Regions from separate parts of the Homo sapiens genome. Here all the other regions are linked to region 3. Evidence: promoter capture Hi-C in 16 types of primary human blood cells and fetal thymus (Javierre and others, 2016). All regions are on one chromosome and are shown on one strand. The core of a region is centred on a gene start or on the middle of the fragment in contact, and the rest is flanking DNA. Distances in the headings are between cores, read along the strand shown.

Region 1 (3,543 bases), core at 230-2,729, 860 kb before region 3:
ACATGGTGAAACCCCGTCTCTACTAAAAATCCAAAAAAATTAGCCAGGCGTGGTGGCAAGTGCCTGTAATCCCAGCTACTCGGGAGGCTGAGGCAGGAGAATCACTTGAATCCGGGAGGCAGAGGTTGCAGTGAGCTGAGATCACGCCATTGCACTCCAGCCTGGGTGACAAAACCCAGACTCCTTCTCAAAAAAAAAAAGTTGGGGGAGGAAAGGCCTTTGAAAACACTTGCAATCACATTCATTCTGCTTCAGACTGTTTACTCTTCTTAATCCCTGCTAACCATGGTTAATTCACTAGCATTTTTGCTTTTCAAGCAGTGACATCCACAAGACCATATTGTGATCTTTCTATTCTTTGCATAGTTTCATGGTTCTTAGAGGAAAAAAAAAGATGTCACACATAACAAACAAACTAACCAGTAGTGACACTAAAATGAGAAAAGGGTTTTGGCATGGCTCAAAAAAGCCATGTGTATAATTTTTAAATCAGTGCTGCAATTTGTGGCCCAGCAAGTGAGACGGCATTTTGCTTCCTCCTCAAGAACCCTTTGTTCTTGTCATGAACCAGAATTTAAGCTTCTGCACTCTGTTTCTGGGAGGCAGAGTCCTCTTTGACCTGATCTGTCTCCTTTGACAAGGAGACAGATTTTAGCTTGTCCAAAAAAAGATAACCCCTGCTGCTCCTTGTTTGGAAAAAACACATTCTCCTTCCTGGGAGAGGCTGAAAGAAGAATTGACTACAAAAGAGAATGTAACAAGTCTTCATTTTCAACTCATTTCCCTTTAATTTTTATGCCAAGTACAGCCGTGCCTTGAGTGATGTGGCAACAGGCTGAATTTCCCCTTCTTTCTCAGATTGTCTCTTATTTTGACAACGGCCTCCTTTCGTTAATAAGAAGTCAATGACATGTTCCTCTGTTTTCTTAACAAAAATCTGCACTGCTTGTGGATAGGATGGTCACATAATTTCGCAGTCCACAATGCTGGGGACTAGGGGATAGGAAAAAACGTAGAGAAGCATGTTTTACCGGGAAGAAAATAGTAGCAATGCAGCTACCCTAACTTGAATGGAACAAAGCTAATACTTGTACTTCTTGTTCCTTTCAAATGCCTTTCTTGAATACCTAAGTTCTCATAGTCCTGGAGAATCTTGAGAAACAATAAAACTTTGTGATTGTTTTAGAACTTCAAAACTTCTGCACAGGATTGACTTGAAATATCAGAGAGGTTCTTGTGGAAGAGGATGTGAGGGTATCTTTTTAAGCCAGCTGTCACTACATAGCCAGACTTTTAAGATAAAATGCTAAGGAAAAAAAAAACTTATTTTAGCTCCTCAAAAGAAGGAAGGAAAAGAAAGGAAGAAATGAAGGAAGGGAGGGAGGGACAGAGAGGGAGGGAGGGTAGGGGTGAAAAAAAACACTTTGCTGCAGTTCACAAAAATTTGATTAAGTGTAATGAAAACTTTAATTTGTTGATAAAAGCACTCAGTTATTAAGTCCTTTTAACTTTACTCATATTTCCCACCATAAATATGTAACATGTATGTATATGTATTTATTTCCAAACTTGAAGTTTAAAGGCAATCTCTATACCCTCTCCATATGCATTCTTTAAAATCAAATATAACAAAATATTTATTCAGATGTTTTCTCTTCTTCAATCTTCAGTGAAGGAAAATATAATTTTCTTTCTTCAGCAGAGATTGCACAGTGGCTTTAATCAAATCAATCCATTTCACCACTAGATATAGAATATTTTCCCTAAGGGCCACAAAAAGTCGAAGTTGATTTGTCTTTGTCAAAGCAGATAAGTTGTTAAATGAAAGAAACAGTACCAGAATCCTTCCAACTAACTGAACTAGGAGAGAGGAATAAAGGAGATGAACTCTACGTGCAAACATACATATAATTTCTTTTTTCCTCATCTGTCTCTTGCTCTGTTTCCCCCAGTTCCATCTGCAATAGCAGCCATACAGCACCTAGACTGTTGAGAGATACTGAAACTTGAAAGAAAAGGGAATGTACAATGTGCAAATGCAATATCATTATTCAATAACTTTGCAAGTAATTTTATTACCTGAGACACCATGGTTTCTTTGTCTCCTTTTTCTGTGTCCCATTCTCTGCCTCTAGCTGTGGGTCTGTCTCTCTCCTACACATACATACTCACCTAGAGGGGCATACATATTAATAATGTGTGGGAATTTCTTACTTAAAGCTACTTCCTCTTCAAACCAAGAATAGCAGAATACCTGGATCCAATAAACAAATGATCTTGTCTCGACATCTAAAATAAATTATCTGGCAGAACACTGTAAATGAATACTTAATAGCAAAACTTAATAATAAGGGAACACACAAAGAAGTGCAAGAGTAGGAAGCTTTCTTGTATCACTTCCTCATGCCAAAAACAGAACTGGAAATTGTCACTCAAAAAAAAAACTTTTAAAATATAGTAGTTCAAGTTTCAAACGTGGTCCCAACAAATCAGATATACAACTGTAATCTCAGTTCTTTATTCTATACACCAACTTTAGATATCTTCCCATAAGTCTTAAAGTGATTTTTGAATACAAATATTTTTCTCCCTTCAGGCTAAGCCCTATGGGCGAGTGCAGAACTCGTACAACTGGTTCTACTACCAAACTATAAAATGTTCATTCCCTATTTTTCACATAAGAAGAAAGCAACTTTCTCCTTTTTTCTCATTCTCATTTTAGCCTGAACACCTGGCTTTTTCTGAAGCTATGCCAGGTTCAGATCAGATACTATGAGGGCAGCAATGACTACGGGTTACTGCACACACTATCTCCATGGTTTCTACTGTGAAATCCCTTTAAACTTTCTATCTGGACTATTTTCATGTGCTGTGTATGCGTGAGCACCTCTGGAGGTTATTAAGTAGTTGTTTCATCAATAAATGTTGGTGATGCTTATCTCTATATTTCTCTGGATTCTAGCATGCAAGACTTTTGAGATGACCTACTGAGATAAAGATCTAAGTGACAAGCATTAAAGAGAAAAGACACAATTTGATTGGAAAAGGCTTAAGAAAATACGGAGGTTACTTTCTGCAATACGTGTAGAGGGTAACTGTTCTCCAGTGCTTATCTTTGAACTCTTATTAATTTAGTGTTTGATTCACTATAGTGAACAAAACTGTTCTTTACCTTGAATCAAACACAAAGAATGTAGAATTCATTACCTGGCGATATCCTATCAGTTCAGAATACTCCATAAAGTCTCTACATTTGAAAAAAGGTGGGTGCAAATGTCTGGTTCTATTTTTTAATGCTTTCATTTCACTTTTATGTATGAGAAGTGTGAACATCTCTCTGTGGTACAACTCCTATCTCCATACTGTTTTCTCCACCCTTGACCTACTTCTCTTTCATTATTTTCCCATTCTAACAATTCCTCTCCCCTTCAAATATCTCATGAACAAGGCTAATTTTCAGTCTCATCACCAACCCTGGCTTGAATGCTCTTGCAGTTTTTTCTAGTAAAATCAAGTAGCCATTTATATTAATTAGGTAGGCTA
Region 2 (3,079 bases), core at 364-2,863, 980 kb before region 3:
AGGGAGAAAACAAATAAATAAAATACTTAGGCAATAAAATGAGAAAAAATATGAGAAACTATACTGGGAAAAAACTATCAAGGCATTGTTTTAATATCACTTCATGCTTGAATATATTTAAATACCACAAACTTGTTATGATTTAAAGGAACTCAAAAGACTATTGTTTTCGTTCTCTTGATATTTCAGTGAAGCCTGCAAAATGTATATGTGGGGAAGTGCGAGTAGATGTGTGATTTAATTTTTGTGCTTTATTTGGGTGAAACTGGAGTATGAAGAAACATAAGAGACACCCTCAGAGCACAATCAAGATGTCAGCATTCACAAACCCATGTGCTCCCCCTCTAAATTATACTCCTCCAGATGGCTTGGTTAATTTTGAAGTGGATAAAGCTAACAGTGCCAGATCACACCCAAGCAGTATAAAACTGTATAAGAACACAATAAAACAGTAATAAACAATAGACTATTTTAGTGGCATATGGCAGATACTGAGTCAGGCCAGCCTCAAATGTAATCTTTGGATTCTGTTTAAAAATCAGTGTCTGAATTATAGCATTAGCATTCAAAGCACTCCTGTAAGCAGTAAGCAACTATTCTAAAGAAGAGAAAGGAAGGGTCAGATAAAGGAGAAAAGGAAAACACAATGGTCACTGGAGAAGAAAGATAAACAAGAAATAATAAGCAGTGCTTGCATGACAATCTACAAGGGGAAATATAGAATTCATGAAAGCATTCAACAGGAAGAGATGGCAACAAGTAGACCAATATGAAGGAAATGGGTATGGGAACTCCCAGCAAGAAGGGGAGCAAAGGAGAAAGAGGAAAATACACACAAACAAAATAACAATTCCTCCCTTCTCTGAATATCTGGACATAAAATTTATTGTCTTCCATTAAAATGACAAAAATTGTATGTTGCATCATCAAAGTTGGAAATATATTGTTAAAACCTTAACTCTGCAATCCCTAAGTAAAAATTCCCTCTTCTGAACATGTCTTCACCCCTACACTAAACCCAACCATCTTCTCCTGGGAGAGGGATGTTTCAGAACAATGAGAGATCTGTTCAAATTGCTGAAATTAAAGCTTCCAAGTGAAGAGCCCAAGATATAGCCCCCTTTTATCTACTTATATCCTATTTATAGTACGCATTTCAATGTAAACAAGACTTCCTCCATACCAAGTAGAGATTGTACACCTAGACACTAAATAAAAAAGTATTTTTTCCAGAAAAATACTTTTCAAGTGAGAATTTTGTTAATGGATAGTTTCTTGATAACATGAGTGATCTGAATAAAGTTAGTTATCCACATAATTAACTATATATGGCTGAATAGGAAGTCCCAGCCTTCATTCCCACACAGAAACATGAATTGCTCACAAATGTACACACTAAACATTTTTATATGAATTCCAGACTTCAATTAAGATGTTGCAGTATTCCAAGTGTGCACAAAGTACAGAATAGTCAAATTGAATTGAGTTAAGAAGAGCAATTTCATTTACCTGCATCAGCCTCTCCCCCAAGTTAGCACAGCTCAGTGCCAAGACAGAATGCCTCTTCACATCTTTTTCCTCTGGGAGAAAAGAATAGAGCATGCCTCCAACATTCCAGCTTTTCAGAGAGCTGCCCAAGAAACAGGTCTCTTACTTCCTTGATTGGTGTGCCCACAGAACTAGCATAATTTGAATGTCTGGGGGTCACTGAGGACAATGGAAAGCAGCAGGTGGCTTGATATGGTTGGCACAGCATGGCACAATTGGGGGAGGAAGTGCACAAGTTAAGACTTCTTCCTTGGCAAGGAGGGAGAAGAGTGGAGCATGTGTTGGCATTCTGGCTCTTCAGAGGGCTGCCCAAGGGACTAGTCTCTGTCTTGCCTCACTTGGAGCACTCATGGAACTAGCATAGTTTCGATGCCTTGGAGCCACTGAGAGCAAAAGTTAAAAAAAAAGGCAGTAGGCAGTTTGCTATAGCTACCATACCTCAGTAAAATCAAGAGAAGATGCACAACTCAAGGCTTCTCCTTCAAGAGGGAAGGAGAAAGGAGCGAGAAATGAGTCTGTCATTCTAGCTTCTTGGAACACCAGCTTCTGAGAAACTGATATCTGTCTCACCTTACTCAGTGTACTGATAGGAAGCTTGCATGCCCTGGATATTTGCCAGCCACTGACAACAAAAGAGAGTGGGAAACTTGCAGCTGTAGAACCAGATAACTTGTGGTGGCACAGACAGACATCAGAAAAGATAATGAGTTCCTGAGGGGAAACAAAAAACACAGTAAGCCTCTCTGAGAAATTGCATGCACAGGCCCAGATACCCCAAAAAGTTTCAGAGGATTCCAGAATCTCTTTATGGGCTACTTAGTGGGAGTCTTATCTAAACAAAGCCAGTCTGAAGACTGGGAGAAGTGACAGATCCTAATACAAAGCCACAAGGTGCATGAAAAAACAAGGAAACATGGCTCAATCAAAGGAATAAACTAAATCTCCAGAAACTGGATCTACAAAGAGGTATGTGGACAACTTGAAAGAGAATTCAAAATAATTGTCATAAAGATGCCCACTGAGCTCAAAGAAATAACAAACGAACAGAATAAAGTATTAAGAAAGATACAGAAAATATAAAAAAGAAGTTTTGGAGCTGAAAAAGAAAATAAACTGCAAAACTCACTAGAGAAGTTTAATGGCAGACTTGATATTCAGAAGAAAACATCAGCAAACTTGAATATGAGTCATGTGAAATTATCTGCTAGAGGCTCAAAATGAAAAAAGAATGACAAAGAATAAAGAAAACCTAAGGGACATACAAGGCACCATCAAATGGACCAATATTTGCATTATTGTTGTTTCAGAAGGGGAAGAGAGAGAGAATGGGGCAGAAACATTACTTAATAAAATAATGGCTGAAAACTTCCCAAATGTAAGGATGGAAATGGACATCTAGATTTGAGAAACTCTGCACGCTCCAACTAAGATGAATTCAAAGAAATACACACCAAGCAACATCATAATCAAATTGTCAAAAGTCAAAGAAAAACAATTTTGAAAGCACCAGGAGAAAAGCAACTTGTTATGA
Region 3 (3,492 bases), core at 833-3,332:
TATATGAAATATGTCACTTAACATTTTTACCTGAATGTCAACAACATAGAGTAATGTAGCAGTTTAGAAGTTATTAAATAATATCTTGAGGATATATAATTCCGACACACATGCATATTAAAGCTGACTCATACAACACAATTGTCACGGCGCAAATTTAAAAAATGAGTTAGGAAATCCCAGCGATGGGTTTTGTGTGCCAATTTATCTCAATTGCTCAAATTTCTCTAATTATTCATCCCAATTGTAAGCCTTCTAAAAAGGAATGCCTATGAGGAAACTTGAAATTTTCTTCTCAATGTTCTTCAGTACAACAGTTAAAAATATTTAAAGAAATGCTGAGTAAGTAGGAAACCCTCAGAAGTAAGCTGAAAATGAACAGTCTCAGTGGGCAAATAGGTCTACCATATAAAAGCTCTATTTGATGATTATCTATTGTAAGATCATCTTTTTTTTTCTGTATGGAAGTAACAAATTTAACTCAGAGAAAAGTTGTATTGCCAAATTCTTGAAATTAAACCTTAGTATCTGGCAACATTTTTCCTCCCATGGTACTAGATTACTAGATTTTTATGTTAAATTTAATTTTCTTGAATTCAAATGTATGAGCTTGATTTCTAAAAAACAAACAAACAAACCAAAAAACCAAAACCCTCATATGGAGAAACATGAAGTTAGCATATAAACAAGAAAAGAAGAAACTTTGATCTATAAATGAAGAAAAATGGGTTTTGATAAGCTCTCTTTGACAGGTCACCCTCCTTGGGCTTCAGAGTTATAAAAAAATCGATACGTGAGATTAGAGATGTGACAGTATTTCTAAATTTCTGTTTCCAACCGTTTCATGACTTTTCATTTCCTCTAGAAAAGACATAGGATATTAATATAATAAGATTTGCAATTTGTTAAATATCAAATGAGTCAACAAATATGAAGCTTCAAGGAAAAGGTGACAACAGGTGGTACCAGACATCTGAGCTGCAGAACAAAGATGGTTGTAAAGTGCACAGAACTGTTACAAAGCCTTAAGAGCTACTATAATCCATGATTATTAAATAACACCACATACTATTTCAATTAGCATTTGCCAAGCTTGCTTTCCTTGTCATTGGATTAAAAATTATACCCGGATTTTCAAGTGTATTCTATTTGTGACAATATGCATTGATAATTTCTCTCCTCACACTGCTGCACTCTCACCTCCGTTCCCAGATTAGCTCCTGGAACTCGAGATATTTTTGTGGCTAGAGATTGCTTTCTTAATGTTAGATTTTCCTTACAATTCCATATATAGTCAAGCATTCCATGCATGGTAGTTAATTGTTTGCTTAATTTGGCAACTGGGATATTAGAATTATGTATCATTAGGCAGTGATATTTTTGTAAGGTTGTTTGCTAGATAGATCCTATTTCATTTATATTAAGTCTTGGGAAGATAAACTTTATTTTTCCAGAGCCTAGCAGTGACTGACACATATTCGAATGAATGAAGGTAGATAGAAAATGTCTATATTCATTTACGTAATGATTAGTTAAGGAGAAAAGTACTTCCCAGCATAAAGATTTCTGGCAACCCTTTGCTTATTTGACTTTTCCCTTCAGGCAAGTTCAAGGCTTGTGAAATTCCTAGAAAGGCGAGGGGAGAGAACGCGTGACACAGAAAGGGGCCGGAGTTCGGGACCCTACGCAGTTTTGGGACGTTATGGGCATGGAGGGAAATGTTTGCTTTGGAGGCTTTGGGTAAGCTAGGGATCCGACAAGCCCTGGGCGCAGGGAGGAACGCTGCCCTCCGGCCTCCAGTCGCGCTCCCCGAAGCCCAGCGCCAGCGTCGCGCAACCTGCCGCAGGGGCGGCTCCCGGGCCAGGCAGCCAGGCGCGCCCTCGCCCCACCCGGGAACGCCAGGCCCGCGCAGGGAGGGGCGGGGCTCCATGGCGGCCCCGCCCCGCCGCCCGGAGGGTCACAATGTAGGGTTAGGGCGGCCGGCGGGCGGGGCTCTGCGGGGGAGGAGCCGCCGGGCGGGGGCGGGGATGGCGCGTGGGGGAGGGGAGGGAGGAGGACTCGCGGAGGGAGGAGGACAACGCCATTCCGGGCGGCCGCTCCCTCCGTCCCCTCTCTCCCTTCCCCAAAGCAGCCCGCGGACCGGCAGCAAAGGAACGTGCGAACGCGTGACGCCGCCCGACTGGCTCGCGCTCTCCCGTGCCCCGGCGTCCTCCGCCCGCTCATGGCCCGGGCCGCCGCGGACGAGCGGCGCTGAGGCGGGCCGCGTGGAGACGTGAGGCGGCCGCCGTGGCCCTCACAGTCGGCGTTTCGCCGCCTGCCCGCGGTGCCCGCGCACGCCGGCCGCCATCGCCTTCGCGCCTGGCTGGCGGGGGCGCTGTCCTCCCAGGCCGTCCGCGCCGCTCCCTGGAGCTCGGCGGAGCGCGGCAGCCAGGGCCGGCGGAGGCGCGAGGAGCCGGGCGCCACCGCCGCCGCCGCCGCCGCCGCCGCGGGGGCCATGACCGTGGAGCAGAACGTGCTGCAGCAGAGCGCGGCGCAGAAGGTGAGGCGAGTCCGCCAGCCGGCGGGCCCCACTTCTCCTTCCGACGGGCTGTCCTCTCCCGCTGCGGCCGGGCGCCCCGGCCTCGCCGCCGCCGCCTTCCCGGGCTTCCTCCCCGGTCACCCCCGGCCCCTGCCCATCGCCTCGGGGGCGTCGCGCCCAGAGCCCAGCTGCGTGTGGGAAGCAGAGTGTAGTTTGCGGGCTTCAATCCACTTCCTTCTGCCGATTGTTTTCCCGTAGCAGACGGTGCCAGGTATTGAGAGCGACCCTCACATTCCTACAGTGCTCTGTGTGGCATCTTAATGAAACTTTATTCTCTCCCCTTAAATGAGAAAGAATAGCTAGTTGTCATCCTTTCTGAACCGATTTTGTCTTTCAAAGGTAGTAGTGTACCAGGCCTGCTATTTTGCAAAACGGTCTCCACCAAAATCGAATTACCTGCCTCGCGGGGCAGGCGTGTTGACCAGGTGGACTCTAGAAGTAGGTGGTTTGCTTGGTTTCTTTTCCTTTTAAGGTTTCCCTTTCTTCTTCTTCTTTTCTGTTTTTTTTTTTTTTTTTTTTTTTTTCAATATAGAAACTGTCCCTAAGAGAGGAAACCTTTCTGGCCATGTTATTCCAGGAATCTTTTGTCCCCTAAGTTTGACCTTGTTCTTTCGTTCACCCTTTACTCTTGCATCAGTCACACATTCAAATGGTCACTCACTAAAGAAAACAATTAAAAAACTGTTTGTGAAACTTTATATCTTTAAAGTGAATAGAGATCATTCTGCTATTTTAGATTTTGCTTTCAGAATCTTAAGTGCACTATCATGGCTTGCACCATGTTCTGAAGAGTAGTTGGCCATGATTTAACTTCTTTTTTTAATTTTTAATTTGCGTGAAAAGCATTTTGGGCAAAAGAGTAAACCGTGCCTTAGTTGTGTTGGTATTACGGGGACAGTTAGGGTTTACTGTGA
Region 4 (3,485 bases), core at 933-3,432, 720 kb before region 3:
AATACACATAAAGAAAATATCAACCACAAAATTACTCTCTTAGATTGTTCTGCTCCAATCCTGCAGAGGTGATATACATTAAGTCTCAAGCACAGAAAGCCAATGCACTTGGACTTTGTCCAACTAATTTATTTGGTAGTTAACATTCGCAGGCAGTGAAGGAGGAACATGGGGAAACAAGCCCCACCAAGGGGAGCAGATCCAATATGGCTACCGAGTGTTCATGGACATGGTTTCATTGTGCCTTAAAATGTCATGCATGTTCAGAAACAACTTTCTTAAAGTCCATTTTTAACTAAGATTAATTTTTTTTCCATAGAAAAAAGATGGTCTTCCTACATCAGTTCTTTGAAAGTTGAGAAACCTGAATGATACGTGCTGTTATTTCTAAAGAGGCAGGAGAAAATTGCTTAACTAGACTTCTAAATCACAAATGGATAAAAGTGAGGAAGAGAGAAGGTGAGGCAATAAAGAAGCACTTTACTCACCCACCTCCAACACATTATAAATAAATCACAGTTGCCAGAGGGAAAAGTGTGTAACTCCTAGTTCCTAAGTCCAGCCATGTGATAATGTTTCTAGGAGATAGATGTCATGGGGAGAAAACTTCTCCATGAAAAGTTTATCTGAGAATTTGATTTATAAATTATATTTCATCATTTAAAAACTGGGCATTTATAAATTCTCTTAAGTTTAGAATGCAACCCTCTAAAGTCAGACATAAGGAATTCAAAGCAATGACAAATAGATAGGAATGAAGGAGTTAATGCCTTTAGAATTCAGCTTCCATCATACATGGGTGACTATCTCTTTAAATAATTTAAATCCTCTCCATCAACTACAAAGCTGTTTTGAAGCCATTTAGCTTTGTTCTTTACATGTGTTCTAATTAAGAGATGACCTTGTCATCACACACACCAGAAATCCGGGATTATTTCCTACAGCAAAAATTCACAGAGCCCCCCAAAGAAGAAAAAGGGGGGTAAAAAAGTCTTCTTCCTCAGTTCCTCACTAAAGGAAGTTGTTGGTTGGTTGAACGCTGAGGCAGTTTCACCGCATAATTTTTTTGTTGTTGTTGAATGTCACAGGGCGGGTTAGTGTGACCTTGAGCTGCATCAGCAGCACAGCAAGGGTCGAGATGCCTGCAGGCGCCCTTGTACTGGATTTGCAAGACAAAAACCTTCAAACTGGCTGAAGGACATCTTAAATCTCTTCAAAGGTTTTCCGAACTAATCTGGGCTGCTCTTAGCAGGATCTGTGCCAGTGTGAGAAGCAAAATTAAAAACAAGGTCTTTGACAGGATGTTGTCTCCTCTTAACCCTTCCCAAGCAGAATAGAACAAACCACCAGCATTCTGGAGAGAGGGTTTACCTAGAAGCATTCTTTTATAACAAATTATGTAAGCAGACAATCACAAAGAATGGGGCAGTTATTAGTTCTCAAAAGTAAACAACCCTTCCATTGTGCTTATTAAAGAATTCAGGTCGAATTCTTTCTTGACTATATTTCAGTGTAGTGAATGTAAAACTTAAAGCTCTATTTGTATCTTTCAGATTTGTAGCACAGTCACAGGTTAAGACTAAAAAATATTTCCATCAATATTTATCTCTAGAATTTTCATTTTTAAAAAAAAATACATGGTTTTAGTTGGTTAAGTCACAAACTTCACGCATACTGCATATAGCTTACTAAAATTACAGGTAAGGAAAATTACATTATAGCATGTTTACTAAATTTCTTATTCCCAACATGATGAATACATTCTTAAGACGGAAAAAAAAAATCATTAGAATAGTGAGTAACACAAGTAAAACAAGGTAAAGCAATCTCGGTCTTGTTATAAAAACATCAGCATGACATTTGATGTTTTAGCATTACCAGTGCATGGGCCAAAAGAGAAAGTATTAATGCCAGTAGAGGGTGTTTGATTCTTCCCTGGCAATGCTCTCAAAATTTAATTTAGTAGCTAAAGTAGGCAAATGTTTAAATCATTACTCTAGAACAACAAAAGGAAAAAGGTGAATAAAATAGTCCTGGCTTTCAAGAAATAAATAGTCTGGTGGAACAAACAGCTGTAATGCTTAAATCACAATATATGCTAAAATCAGTGTGTCTCCATCTATAACATGCTGGTTTGTCATCATCAGATATAAGGTATGTCATGATTAGTTCTAAAGAGTATTTAGTGTAAGTATTTAGTGTTAAGTACAGAATTTAATAAGGTCTAAGAGGTTGCAAATTATTCCCTTTTAAAAAAACAGACTAAATAAATTCAAGATAACTTGGGTGATAACCACACTTTCACTCACTTGGATTCAGGTATGTTTTCCTGAACAGGACAGGAAAAGGACAGAGTAATAACACCTAGTGAGTAAATAAGACCCGAGAGTGCACAGTGCCGGTGATTTTCTTCCTTAGTCTCTGTGCCAAAGGAGAGAGAGTATATACTGTGCTAAATGCAATGACTGAAATATGTAAAAAGTGCTCTAGGAACACAGATAGGCTGTAACCAGGTTTTTAGTTCATATGTACACATGCAGGTGGTAGTCAGTGATGGTTAAAAAATGAGTAAGGGCTAGCCAGGCAGAAGAGAATGGCAGCCATTCTAGGGTCCAGAAATAGCACTCAAAGGCAAGGAAGAGCTGAGTGTGACACAGGAAGTGTGGTAGTCCAATGGGAGTGGAGATTAGGCTGGAAATGCAACTGGGACCAAGGACTTTGAATCAAGGCCATGCCAAGAAGCTGGCCTTTATCTGGTGGGTTTCCTTACAAGCAATGGTATTATTAAAAGCATATTAGAAAAACAAAACCAGAAGCTATGGGAGTTGTTGATAGCTTGGAGGGAAGAAGAAACTGTAGATCAGTTAGTGCACTGCCATGGTCAAAATAAGGCAAAGGCAGGAGAGTTGAAGAAAAAGACAGCTCTGGAAACAATGAAGGCTGCTTTGAATATTTAAAAACCAATTTGTTTAACATAAACAGTGCTATAAGATAGGGTGTTATTTCATAGCAACTTTATTGAATCAAAGATAAAAACGATAAAAATAATTACTATATCTCAAGCCTAGGTTTGATAAACACTGTGCTAAAAAAATGATTTCTACAAAGTTTCAAAAAAGTAGTAATTCTTACAGGGGTGCTTTAAAGAGGCAGAATCAGATCCTGTTTGAAGTCTGAATTTTGTACTTTGAACTATCAACCTTCATTAAGTATTAGGTAAGGGTTTTGCTAAGACAGTGACATGTACCTTTTCAGAACAGTGTGAGAGCGTATTTCCCTTGGCTATAAGACAGAGATGTCCGACTTAAATTATAATGTGGTTCTTGGAGCTAAGAGTTCTATCCAACGCTAATGAGAAAAAAAATTAACTCAGCAAACATTTCTTGAGTCCCGACTACGTTTAGGACACAGAATTAAAAAATAAAAACTACCCAACATTCTATCAGCTTCATGTTTTTAGATGATCACTCATAATGATATCAAGT

What was found. Contacts are between HindIII fragments. The CHiCAGO score rates a contact against its expected background, and 5 or more counts as called.
Region 1: a contact is called between a fragment that was not itself captured here and the fragment with the promoter of USP25 in region 3, in 1 of 17 cell types (fetal thymus). The highest score is 6.5, in fetal thymus.
Region 2: a fragment that was not itself captured here is called in contact with the fragment with the promoter of USP25 in region 3 in 1 of 17 cell types (total B cells); the score reaches 5.4 in total B cells.
Region 4: a fragment that was not itself captured here is called in contact with the fragment with the promoter of USP25 in region 3 in 1 of 17 cell types (naive CD8 T cells); the score reaches 5.3 in naive CD8 T cells.

Annotation. Positions count from the first base shown.
Region 1 is chr21:14,868,102-14,871,644 of GRCh38, forward strand. The region is part of intron 1 of ASMER1 (adipocyte associated metabolic related lncRNA 1); the gene reads right to left. Among named protein-coding and RNA genes, the nearest start is that of ASMER1, 49 kb to the right of the region's middle. RefSeq lists an enhancer at 2,712-2,761. The HindIII fragment of the contact is 1,804 bases long and covers 578-2,381 here.
Region 2 is chr21:14,751,815-14,754,893 of GRCh38, forward strand. No RefSeq gene overlaps it. Among named protein-coding and RNA genes, the nearest start is that of ASMER1, 170 kb to the right of the region's middle. The HindIII fragment of the contact is 1,053 bases long and covers 1,088-2,140 here.
Region 3 is chr21:15,727,900-15,731,391 of GRCh38, forward strand. It overlaps USP25 (ubiquitin specific peptidase 25), which reads left to right and starts at 2,083. Exons shown (of 26, transcript NM_001283041.3): 1 at 2,083-2,539. The coding sequence starts at 2,495. RefSeq lists a silencer at 1,688-2,647. The HindIII fragment of the contact is 4,884 bases long and covers 1,091-3,492 here.
Region 4 is chr21:15,004,403-15,007,887 of GRCh38, forward strand. All of the region lies in intron 3 of NRIP1 (nuclear receptor interacting protein 1), which reads right to left. Among named protein-coding and RNA genes, the nearest start is that of NRIP1, 59 kb to the right of the region's middle. RefSeq lists enhancers at 617-1,552, 3,447-3,485. The HindIII fragment of the contact is 6,037 bases long and covers 1-3,485 here.